Linked DNA regions of Homo sapiens: regions 2 and 3 are each linked to region 1. The links are contacts of gene promoters, found by promoter capture Hi-C in blood cells and fetal thymus (Javierre and others, 2016). All regions are on one chromosome and are shown on one strand. The core of a region is centred on a gene start or on the middle of the fragment in contact, and the rest is flanking DNA. Distances in the headings are between cores, read along the strand shown.

Region 1 (4,238 bases), core at 1,041-3,540:
TTCTTACACCTTTATTACTCTAGAACATGGTTGAGAAGCTGAGGACAAAACCCAAACATTGTAACCAAATCATTTCTATCAACCAGGAAGTTTTAGGGTTTCAGAAGCTCTGTGATAAACAAAAATGAAATATACATGTTTCTTATAATATCACAAGTTCAATATTCTAGTAGATTTTCTTGTATACAAGATTGCTCACTTGAGAATGTGGAGCTGTTTGTGATGTTAATAGAATGATCTACATTTTAGAGACTGCATGTGAATGATTAAGTATTTCAAAGCCCTTAGGTAATGATTGGAGGAAACCAAAATAACCTTCTCTAAGATAACTGCAAATTGTTGAGCTGAAAAAGGTGGCAATGTAGGAGAACATTCTTCCCCTCCTTCTTCTTGCCTGTTGGCAGAACAACAATTTACAAAGACAAAGGTCTTCCTGTCTTCCTTTCTACTTTTCCCAGCTAAGGATTAGCTCCTTTACGATACTTGTAAAAGGATTTAGAAGCAGATTTTACTCTTCCTGTTAAAATACCTTCCTGTATTTCATTTCCTTTTGGAATCGTGAAGATACTCTCTTCTTTGTCTTTTCACTATCATCCTAAAGGAAGTAGCTGAAGCCACATTAATATAGAGAGTTTATTTGGGCAAAGGATGAGGACAGCTACCCAGGAAAACACTTGTAGGTTGCCTTGGGAAGTGGTCTAGAGAGCAAAGGAAAGACTGAAGATTTTAAAGAAAAAAGAATGAATCTGAAAAATCATGGAACCATCCCAAATGCTCATCAATCAATGAGTGGATAAAGAAACTGTGGTATAGATATACAATGGACCACTACTCAGTCATAAGAAGCAATGTATTAATAGCACTTGCACTGACCTGGATGAGATTGGAGACTATTATCCTAAGTGAAGTAACTCAGGAATGGAAAACCAAACATCATATGTTCTCAATGATATGGGGAGCTAAGCTACGATGACACAAAATGTATAAGAATGGTACAATGGACTTTGGGGACTTGGGGGGAAGAGTGGGAGGGGGATGAGGGATAAAATATTACAAATATGGTGCAGGGTATGCTGCTTGGGTGATGGGTGCACAAAAATCTCACAAATCACCACTAAAAACCTTACTCATGTAACCAAATACCACCTGTACCTCAATAACTTATGGAAAAATAAAAATTAAAAAAAGAATGAATCAGGAGAGGGAGTGAATTAAAAAGTTACTCATCAGTAAATTATCATTGGTTTACAGAAACCACATTGATTAGTAATTAGCTGTATACTGTTAAATTTTAGGGTTCAGTTAGTCTAGAACCTACATAGCAAATGGCTTCAAGAGGTAAATTTCGTGCAAGGTGGCAGTGAGGCATGACTCCTGTCATATCTCTCTCATGAGTCCACTCTGGACTTGATAGTTTCAAGGCACTCACATTCCTCAAATAACAGTTTTTTTTTTTTTTCGTTCTCAGCACTCCATAGATTTATGGCTGTTTGTTAACATACTATTTAAGCAAGGCCTGTAAGCCACTGCCATGAAAGAGATAAATACATTTGAACTGAGTTCTCTCCTGAGTGATGGGTATAACACACATTGATAAACTGCTGCTTTTTCTCTTGTTTCTCTGCCTTTTGTTTTCAGGACAGTGTCTCTACTAAGAATCTATGAGGACAAGAAAACATCATATATTTTCTGTGCTACAATATAAAATTCATGAAGCCTGTTTCTGATTTTATATCACTTCAGGCTCCCTTTTGCCTAATCAGGGAGATTACAAAATATCACTGACATCTGCCCAATATTAGTCTGGATGCAGTAAGAATGTTTCATCACCTTTGCAGACTGATTTCAGAATGTTTCATTTTGCAGTCACATTCCTTAACAATGTTCATGGGTTTTGTTATTTACTATGTTACCCTTCATATCTAAACCATATCCATCCAATCAAACTTTTGCTTACTACCTAGGACACTGTTCAACACATGGATTAAGGCTTGCATAAAATAAGCAGCCAATGTAAAGGTTAGTTAGGGAGCACTTAATTTAACCAAGTTCTCTAAATAGATGTCTTTTAGGAGATAAAAAATTTTCTATTTTGCATGCCAGAATGAATAGGAATCAGACAGAGAAATTTTATGTTAGAAACTGAAGAAATGATCTAAGTATTCTTGTCAAAGTTCTCATGAATGGTTTTCAATGTTTCTCAATTCCTCTTTTGTTTTTTTTAACCCCACGTATCGAAATCACTGGAAACTTTAGTTGTAATTGTGACTTCTTCTTTTGAGGTACACTTAATGTTGGAAGTCTCTTAGTCCTATAAGAGTGTGTAGCAGTTTGTCCCTGAGCTCTAGCTTCTTTAAATGAAGCTGAGTCTCTGGGCAACATCTTTAGGGAGAGAGGTACAAAAGGTTCCTGGACCTTCTCAACACAGGGAGCCTGCATAATGATGCAAGAGCAGCAACCTCAAAGTACAGGTGAGTATTTCCTCAGTTTCAGAGGAAAGTGGAAGTGTATGGTGAAATGAGATCACCTGGAGAGAAGAAGTAGCCAAAGAACAGATTGAAGAGCTAGTGATTGGACCAATATAGTAGACTCAAAGGAATTTGAAAGAAAGAGTAATTCTTCAGAGCCAGAGCCATAAGCACTTGAAAGAATAAGAAAGCAAATATTTTTTGGGAGGTTTGTACCAGATTTTATTGATAGTTTAGGGAGACAGAAAAGATTTACATGATAGAAGGTAAACAGGGAAATAACTGATTATTGGATGTCTGCTCTTCAAAGTCTTTTGACTAATTTTGAAATCCAGGAAGCAGTACTCTTTCCAATTACCCTAAGTTTTTTTGTACTTGCTTTTCTAATTTTTTTGTAAGAGAAAAGCTTCCCATTTTTAATGCATGAAAATTTGACTTTAGCTTCAACCCTTTGCATGTCCATCAATAATGTTTTAAAAAAATTTTTATTAAAATTTTTTATGGATACAAAATAGTTGTGCATGTTTATGGGCTCCATGTCATATTTTGACACAAGAATATGATGCGTAATGGTAAAGTCTGGAAAATTACATTATCCATCACCTCAAATATTTATCATGTCTTTGTGTTTGGAACATTCCAAATCTACTCTTCTAGCTATTTTGACATATGCAATAAATTATTGTTGGGTTAGGCTCAGTGGCTCACACCTGTAATCTCAGCACTTTGGGAGGCTGAGGTGGGTGGATCACTTGAGGTCAGGAGTTAGAGACCAGCCTGGCCAACATGGTGAAATCCCGTCTCTAATAAAAAGACAAAACTTAGCTGGGCATGGTGGCATGCACCTGTAATCCTAGCCACTCAGGAGGCTGAGGCAGGAGAATCACTTGAACCCAGGAGGTGGAGGTTGCAGGGTGCCAAGATTGCCTCATTGTGCTTCAGCCTGGGTGACAGAGTGAGACTCCATGTCAAAAAAAAAAAAAAGTTAACTACAGTTATCCTGCTGTGCTAAGGGACACTAGATTTTATTTCTTCTAGCTAATTGTATTTTTGTAGGTACGAAACAACCCTTCTCTATCTTCTCTTCCCAGTTAACCTTCCTGGCCTCTGGTAACCACCATTCTATTCACTACCTCCATGAGATCAATTTTTTTAACTCCCACATATGAGTCAGAATATGCAATGTTTGTCTTTCTGTGCCTGGCTCATTTCACTTAACACGATGTCCTCTGGTTCCATCTGTGCTGTTGCAAATGGCAGGATTTTATTCTTTTTTATGGTGGAATAATATGCCATTGTATATATTATACTACATTTTCTTTATCCATTCATCTGTTGATGGACACTTAGGTTGCTTTCATATCTTGGCTACTGTGAATAGTGCTACAATAAACATGGGAGTGCAGATATCTCTTGGATATACTGAAGAAACCAAATATCAATACAGAGATATGAGAAATGGGAGACAAAAGTGATGTTTTGAGAAACGAAATCAATGGAAACATGTAATAGTTTAGAAGAAAGAATAAAGACATGGAAATTCCAGTTGGTTGAGTGTATGTTTTACCTGTATTCTTTTGGACCACAGAGCTACTACCTGGTTATTTATTCTGAGGGAGTTTGTAAGCTGTCTTCTTGCTTTAAGTTTTTAACTGCTCTGAGGTTCTTCATCTAGTTTGTTCATTGTTGTAAGCTTCCTGGGGATTTTGGCTCCCTGGCCCCCTGGTAACTGCATTTGTTGTCTTCCTGATTGGACAGAGAAAAGAGGCT
Region 2 (4,238 bases), core at 1,236-3,735, 410 kb after region 1:
AGCCTGTTCTCCCACTGCCACTTATCAGGTAGAATTAGATCTTGTGTGGAGATAGAGGAAAACATATTGTCCTTGCCTTCTCGGTCCAGGGGCTTAGAGAGAGGAAAAGCCTGTGAACAATATATGGAAGTATTCATAAAATGGGTTATAAGAGCACATTAATAGTACCAGATGTATTTAATTTTCTTTTTTTTTTTGTTGAATGTGAAACATTGGGGCCGGGCATGGTGGCTCATGCCTGTCATCGCAGCACTTTGAGAGGCCGAGGCAGGCGGATCACCTGAGGTCAGGAGTTCGAGACCAGTCTGGCCAACATGATGAAACCCCATCTCTACTAAAAATACAAAAATTAGCCAGGTGCGATGGCAGGTGCCTGTAATCCCAGCTACTTAGGAGGCTGAGACAGGAGAATCGCTTGAACCCAGGAGGCAGAGGTTGCAGTGAGCTGAGATCATGCCATTGCACTCCAGTCTGGGTGACAAGAGTGAAACTCTGTCTCCAAAAAAAAAAAAAAAAAAAAAGCAACATCATGAGGTCCATGTTTTACATGCAAGTAGGATATATATAATTATGGCTAAATGTACATATTAATAAACTAGGAAGACCATTATGGGGTCTGTAAAGATAACACCAAGATTCATGGGCACATATCCTTCTATCCTTCTTCTGCTATTGCAGGTATTAGAAAGCTAATAAGATATAGTCTGAACTCTAAAAAGTTTACAGTCTAGAAGAAAAGCGAGGACAAAGTCTATGTATTACAAAGAGGATCTGGTTTATAATATAAGAAACATGCAAAAGGTACAACATATCGAATTTCAAAATGGGAGAGAAAGCTCATATCAGCTTGAGGGATAAGAAAAGTCTTAGCCGGGCACAGTGACTCACGCCTATAATCCCAGCACTTTGGCAGCCTGAGGCGGTTGGATCACTGGAGGTCAGGAGTTCAAGATCAGCCTGGTCAACATGGTGAAACCCCATCTCTACTAAAATACAAAAATTAGCTGGATGTGGCCCCATCTCTACTAAAGATACAAAAATTAGCTGGATGTGGTGACATGTTCCTGTAGTCCCAGCTACTCGGGAGGCTGAGGCAGAAGAATTGCTTGAACCCGGAAGGCAGAGGTTGCAGTGAGCTGAGATCGTGCCACTGCACTCCAGCCTGAGTGACAAAGCAGCACTCTGTGTCAACAACAACAATAAACAAAAACAAACAAAAACAACAACAAACAAAAATTTTTTAGGCTGGACACAGCAGCTCATGCCTGTAATCCCAGTGCTTTGGGAGGCCGAGGCAGGCGGATCACCTGAGGTCGGGAGTTCGAGACCAGCCTGACCAACATGGAGAAACCCCATCTCTACTAAAAATACAAAATTAGCCAGGCGTGGTGGCGGGTGCCTGTAATCCCAGCTACCTGGGAGGCTGAGGCAGGAGAATCGCTTGAACCCGGGAGGCAGAGGTTGCGGTGAGCCGAGATGGCGCCATTGCACTCCAGCCTGGGCAACAAGAGTTAAAACTCCGTCTCAACAACAACAACACAACAACAACAACAACAATTTTAACTTTGTTTCAGAAAGATTAATCAGCCACTTGGTGTGTGAGATAATTTAGAGAGGAGAAACATTGGACTTGAAGAGATCAGGAGACTGTTTCCTTTATCTAGGTTAGGGGTAAGGGGAAATTGGGAAATTGAATGAGTGGTGTGGCAGTATGGAAAAAACAGAGGGGTAGAATTGTATGATAAACTCAAATCATAAAAAATTATTTTAGATTATAATGAAGAGAGTAGTCATTAATCTATGTATTCTGAAAATATTAAATATCTACCATGTCCAAATCACTTTGATGAGGCTACAGAAATAACTAAGAAAATATATTTCTTGTTCTCATGAAGATTATATTCTGATTTGTTGAAATTAGCCAATTTCACTGAAGATATAACATGTAAATCAGACCTGAAAGAATGAACATCTTTTAATAGGTTGCATGTTTGGTAAAAATGTTAAAAGCACCAAGTTTAGGCCAGGTGTGGTGGCTCACGCCTGTAATCCCAGCACTTTGGGAGGCCGAGGCAGGTGGATCACGAGGTCAGGAGATCGAGACCACGGTGAAACCCCATCTCTACTAAAAATACAAAAAATTAGCCGGGCACAGTGGTGGGCGCCTGTAGTCCCAGCTACTCGGGAGGCTGAGGCAGGAGAATGGCGTGAACCCAGGAGGCAGAGCTTGCAGTGAGCCAAGATCGCGCCACTGCACTCCAGCCTGGGAGACAGAGCAAGACTCCATCTCAAAAAAAAAAAAAAAAAAAAAAAAAAAGCACCAAGTTTAAATATGGTAATGACTTAATTGAAACTTAAAAAAATTATATGGTACTATGCCTCCCTGTTTCAGGGAAATTCTTGGCCAAAGATCACAAAATACTCCTTCTTGCTCGGTCCTGAATAATTATAATATATAATAATATTTTTGGAAAGCAGTGGGTGAAATGTTTACAACTCTCAGTGACAGGTATATGTCAGAATCCTTTTTCAATGAAATCCTTGGCTATCACAAGAAGTCATATATCATATATTACCCACACTGGTTTTTCAGCTGACAGTGAGGTCCCTTTCTTTGAATTGTCTCCATATGTTCAAGCAGTAAAAAACCTCCCTGGCTCCAGTCCACAAAAGGTAAACAAAAATTGTTTGTAGATGGTGAAGCTGCACAGATAGAACTTCTTCACAGCTTCACCAGGGTGGGTGACCTGTCTTCCTGTTTTGTAGGACAGTGATAATGTCGAAATAAGAATGTATTTTTCATTTGTGAGATGAAGAAATCGGGTTTTTTTTTGTAATAGATATTTTTTGTAATAGATATTTTACACGAGTGAGATATAACAATTTTGTTGAACACTTCATTCATTTTTCTTTCCCCTTGTAATTTATATGAATTATGTTTTCAGAATGAAACAGTTCAAATATCACTGTACCATGCTCACTTAGTGACAGTTTATCTGTCTTATTCCCAGAGAAATAAAAGATTGTCACATGGTATAATGGCTAAGAAGCCAGCCTGCAGGGAAGGACTTTCCTAGGGTCCCTTATACTCCTTCCAACTGTCATGTAGAAGATCATTACACAGTTAAATGACTTCATAGACTGCAATTTCTAGGGCTATCAAGTTACTACTGTTTCTCCCCCAAATAAGGAAGCTGTAAAATATATACTGAACAATTATCCACTTGCTTCTAGCAATAACTCATTCTGAAACTGTTGGTTTCTGAACATGAATTGATTAGGTTAACCAAGTAATCTGTGGATGTTCAGTAGTACCTTGTTGATGGTGATTTTCTATAAAAGCATGCTACTGGCTGGGTATGGTGGCTCATGCCTGTCATCCCAGCATTTTGGGAGGCCAAGGCAGCCGGACCACCTGAGGTTGGGAGTTCAAGACTAGCCTGACCAACATGGAGAAACCCCTTCTCTACTAAAAATACAAAATTAGCCGGATGTGGTGGCACACGCCTGTAATCCCAGCTACTTGGGAGGCTTAGGGAGGAGAATCACTTGAACCCAGGAAGCGGAGGTTGCAATGAGCTGAGATCGTGCCATTGCACTCCAGCCTGGGCAACAAAAGCAAAACTCCATCTGAAAAAAAAAAAAAGCAAGCTACTGTGATTTCTAGGCCAGCTTCTCCAGAGGAGGTGGGTATAGTTCTCTAAATACTTAAAGAAGTCATCATCCAAGCCAACTAACAACAACCAGATGTGTGGGTTATAGAGTTGTTCAAGGTTAATTCCAATGGCTCACAAAATGGTAAGTATACGTTTGGTTGTTTCCCTCAGGATACTGTAGTTGCTCTCCAAGCTCTTGCCAAATATGCCACTACCGCCTACATGCCATCTGAGGAGATCAACCTGGTTGTAAAATCCACTGAGAATTTCCAGCGCACATTCAACATACAGTCAGTTAACAGATTGGTATTTCAGCAGGATACCCTGCCCAATGTCCCTGGAATGTACACGTTGGAGGCCTCAGGCCAGGGCTGTGTCTATGTGCAGGTAAGTAGAGATCCATGAGAATGAGCGGACATTGGGAAGGAGAGTCGGAGAGCATCTTCCCCTTAGGCCTTCTCTCTCTCTTTCTTTCTCACTTGTAAGAAAAGTAGTTTGAACTGTACAATCTTTAAAGTTCTTTCCAAGTCTGATTTGGCTACCTATTTCTTCCTACCAGACGGTGTTGAGATACAATATTCT
Region 3 (4,238 bases), core at 717-3,216, 340 kb before region 1:
CTGTAGCAAGAGCTGAAGTAAAAGGTGAAGATATGATACCTACAAAAGAGGAGTCCATACGGTGCTCAAATTGCCCTAAAATTGGCTAGTAGCCTTCAAGCTAATTTGTTGCTTTTTGACGTACTTGCATTAATGTTTGAGCAATTCCTTTATTTCTTTTTTTTTTCTGAGATGGAGTCTTGCTCTGTCGCCCAGGCTGGAGTGCAGTGGCGTGATCTCGGCTCACTGCAAGCTCTGCCTCCCGGGTTCACGCCATTCTCCTGCCTCAGCCTCCCGAGTAGCTGGGACCACAGGCGCCCGCCACCACGCCCGGCTAATTTTTTGTAGTTTTAGTAGAGACGGGGTTTCACCGTGTTAGCCAGGATGGTCTCAATCTCCTGACCTCGTGATCCACCCGCCTCAGCCTCCCAAAGTGCTGGGATTACAGGCGTGAGCCACCGCGCCCGGCCAATTCCTTTATTTCTGATGGAACAAAATATTGTAGACTCACCTTGTACTTTCCTACGAATTTTTCTTTTTTCACCCAAAGCCCAGGGAGAGGTATTACTGCTGAACTCTTTCTAGTTTACCTTTTGCTTAATTTACAGTTTTGCAAAAATTATGAATTATATGGAAGTCTCAATTCCAGCTCCCTGCTTAGTGCTTGTCCAAGGCTTTGTTTCCTCATTTTTTTGTGTATTTAAATCCAAACCCTTAGCCATTACTGCATCTAATGATTTTCTACTCCAGTTAGATGACTCTCAGCTCATGAAGGTTACCTCAAGTTGCATCTTTACCTGTTGTCCCATGTTGCTATATTCTGATTCACTGAGGACCCAATAGCATTTCTCAAGAATAGACCAATTACTCGCTGAGAGGGAATGATTTCCTCTGAACTATCCTACTGGCCTCCTTTGAATTCTCCTACCAATCTCCAGGTTGGTTTGCTTTAGGCTCCAATCTGCATGGATTTGCCAAAGAGGGTTCAAGCACCGCTAGTTTATTAGGGCTAAGTGCAGACTGTCTGTCTACCTGTGGCCTGGACCACCTGAACAGCCTTTTCAGTATGTCACCAAATCCTGGAAGCTTTTCGATTTTCTGGCAAATATGTTTGAACACCCAAATGTGAAATATATTGCCTTAAAAATCCAAAGAGGCCTATGAATCCTGCCTTTCAAAATGGCACATTATTTGATATTTTGGAGGGGATATTTAAGTGCCCCAGACATCAATCAGAATCAACTGAAGGGCTGGTTAAAACACCAATTTTTGGGCCCCATTCTCAAAATTATGGATTTAGTACATCTAAGGTGGAGCCTAAGAATATGCATTTCTAACAAGTTCCCAGGTGATGTTGTTGGTTTAGGACCACACTGAGAACCACTGCCTGATAGACCAGGACTTCAATGGCATGAGGCTTACCAAGGCATCTAGGGTACTGTATTGTCCTGCTTTCCTTGTAGCATCTGTAGGATATCATCAATGGAGTGAACCAGCAGGATATCTTGTAAAACGGTGAGATGTTTAAGTTTTCTGCAGGGTAAATGGTAGGCCAGATTGAAAGAGTTATATAGATCTGAAGAGTTATATAGGTCTGAAGATGATGAAGGTATATTGTTTCTGCCAGGAGAAAAGCAATTTGATGATGATTTTTTTGCTTATTTATTAACTGGAAGAAATAATATCCACCAGATAATATACATATATGTCATATATATATATTTAATTTTTTCTAGACAGAGTCTTGCCCTGTTGTCCAGGCTGGAGTGCAGTGACACGATCACAACTCACTGCAGCCTCAACCTCCTGGGCTCAAGTGATCCTCCCACCTCAGCCTCCTAAGAAGCTGGGACTATAGGTGTGTGCTACCATGCCTGGCTAATTTTTAATCTATATATATATTTTTTGAGACAGGGTCTCACTCTGTCACCCAGACCGGAGTGCAGGTGTGATCTCGGCTTACCACAACCTCTGCCTCCCAGGCTCAAGCGATTCTTCTGCCTCAGCCTCCCAAGTAGCTGGGATTACAGGTGTGCACCACTACTGCCTGGCTAATTTTTGTATTTTTAGTAGAGACAGGATTTCACCATGTTGGACAGGCTGGTCTTGAACTCCTGACCTCAAATGACCCACCTGTCTCGGCCTCCCAGAGTGCTAGGATTACAGGTGTGAGCCACCGCACCCGGTCTAATTTTTATTTTTTATTTTTGTAGAAGTGGGGTTTCACTATGTTGCCCAGGCTGGTCTCAAAGATCTGGACTCAAGCGATCCTTCTGCCTTGGCTTCCCAAAGTGTGAGGATTTCAGGCGTGAGTCATCGTACCTGGCCGTTAATAGGTATACATTAAGGGCCGAGTACTGTATTGACTTGCTCTAGACCTCGCATTTGGAAAGCAGCTAAAATTGGAGTCACCTCCTGATTAAATGTATGATCATCTACTCCCATTGTTTATGACCCATCTGTATTGGCAAGATGAGTGATTTAAATCAAGAATATAATAGGAATTGCTTATGCTTCAGTTTTGAATCCTTTGCTAGTGGTACTAATCTTTGTGATTTCATTATAGATGCTTTACTGCTTTTGATTTTATTTTGCTAGGAAGGGGAAGTTCAGGAGCTTCAATTTGGTTTTCCATCATAATGGACCTTACTTCACAGGTCAGGGAGACAGTGTGGGGATTCTGGACAACAGGAATTTGGGAAATAACCGGAGGGTGACTTCAGGCTCTCACTATACCTGCTGCTTTTGTGGGGATAGGAAACTTCTTGGACTTGGAGTGTTTGTGATGCTTTGGGCAATATATGGGTATCCTCCATATATTTCTTTATCAGTTCTTGAGATCACATTTTATCACAATCAAGCCTCTCGTTTTCACTTAGGAGACATAGCAAAGCTTGAATTCAACTGGATTTGCAATTTTTAACCATCGAGTCCAACTAAAACTTTGGCTTTTGGTCTCTTCAGCCTGCAGCTACAAGCAATAAAGAATTCTTTTAATATAGTTATAGAAATTCTAGTTTTCAGTTTTTTCCTTGGGTCAAGAATTTAGGATATATTGAGTTTGTTACTCTCTTCCTTTGGGTTATCCAGTGCCATAAGAAGCAACTATTCTACTCTACACTTCTTAAATTCTTTCCCTTGGGGTTGCTTGGGCTCTTCTTTTTTTTTTTGTTTTTGTTTTTTTTGAAGTGGAATCTCTCTGTTGCGCAGGCTGGAGTGCAGTGGCACGATCTCGGCTCACTGCAACCTCTGCCTCCTGGGTTCAAGTGATTCTCCTGCTTCAGCCTCTTGAGTAACTGGGATTACAGGTGCTCATCACCACACCTGGCTAATTTTTGTATTTTTAGTAGAGATGGGATTTCACCAAGTTAGCCATGCTGGTCTCAAATTCCTGACCTCAGGTGATCCACCTGCCTTGGCCTCCCAAGGTGCTGGGATTACAGGTGTGAGCCACCGCACCCAGCCTGCTTGGGCTCTTAAAGGCTTGTCTCCAATGGGAACTTTTTTTTTAGGTGACAATGTGTTTCAATTTGCCTATTTTGTCATTGCATGGCAAGGACTACCAAGTCCCATCTGTTAATACTAGTCGTGCTTTCTCTTTTCTCAGCTTCAACCAGATTGGATAATAAATCTCAAGTTTCCTCTATTTCACTTCTATAGCTTTCAAGTATTTATGGTACAATTTCTGAAAGCAAATGCCTGGATTTGCAGCTGTTGTAGAATATGAAGAGCTCTGTTTCATAAAGTGGGAATATTCTTCAAACATAAGGAGAATTAGATGCCAAAAAGAATGACAACCATTACTTGCGTAAACCAAAAAGTGACTGAGGCAGGTCTCAATTGATTTACAGGTTTATTTTGCCAAGGTTGAGGGCATGCCCAGGAACAAAACACAAATCACAGGAGCATCTGTGATTGGTGCTTTTTCCAAAGAAGGTTTTGAGGACCTCAGTATTTTAAGGGAAAAGAGCAAGCAGGAGGGGAAGGAGGAAAGGGGAAAAAAAAAGGCAAGGGAGAGTAGACAAGGAGGCAAGTGGTTACTTTCTTGTGAGGCTCTGGTTAGCACTCAATGAATCTACATTTTACATGTGAAAAGTGGGGGTAAAAGAAAAGTCATTTATGCATTCATCTGGGAGTAGACAGAGGGATGATTTCTGGTCTTGTTCTTGTCTTCTACCTGTGAAGATAAGCTAATAATTTACATTGTCAGGTTGAGATTCAACATACAATGGAATATTATTTGTCCATAAAAAAGAATG

Evidence for each region. The method cuts DNA at HindIII sites, captures the fragments that hold promoters and counts their contacts. A CHiCAGO score of 5 or more calls a contact.
Region 2: a contact is called between a fragment that was not itself captured here and the fragment with the promoter of CLEC6A in region 1, in 1 of 17 cell types (neutrophils). The highest score is 7.1, in neutrophils.
Region 3: a fragment that was not itself captured here is called in contact with the fragment with the promoter of CLEC6A in region 1 in 1 of 17 cell types (erythroblasts); the score reaches 5.6 in erythroblasts.

What each region holds. Positions count from the first base shown.
Region 1 is chr12:8,453,672-8,457,909 of GRCh38, forward strand. CLEC6A (C-type lectin domain containing 6A) reads left to right here and starts at 2,291. Exons shown (of 6, transcript NM_001007033.2): 1 at 2,291-2,471; 2 at 4,227-4,238. The coding sequence starts at 2,441. The HindIII fragment of the contact is 4,980 bases long and covers 1-2,872 here.
Region 2 is chr12:8,864,015-8,868,252 of GRCh38, forward strand. A2ML1 (alpha-2-macroglobulin like 1) reads left to right here. Exons shown (of 36, transcript NM_144670.6): 30 at 3,828-4,043; 31 at 4,216-4,238. Among named protein-coding and RNA genes, the nearest start is that of A2ML1-AS1, 35 kb to the left of the region's middle. The HindIII fragment of the contact is 6,008 bases long and covers 1-4,238 here.
Region 3 is chr12:8,114,095-8,118,332 of GRCh38, forward strand. It overlaps a transcript of CLEC4A not described here. Among named protein-coding and RNA genes, the nearest start is that of CLEC4A, 7.4 kb to the right of the region's middle. The HindIII fragment of the contact is 1,807 bases long and covers 1,064-2,870 here.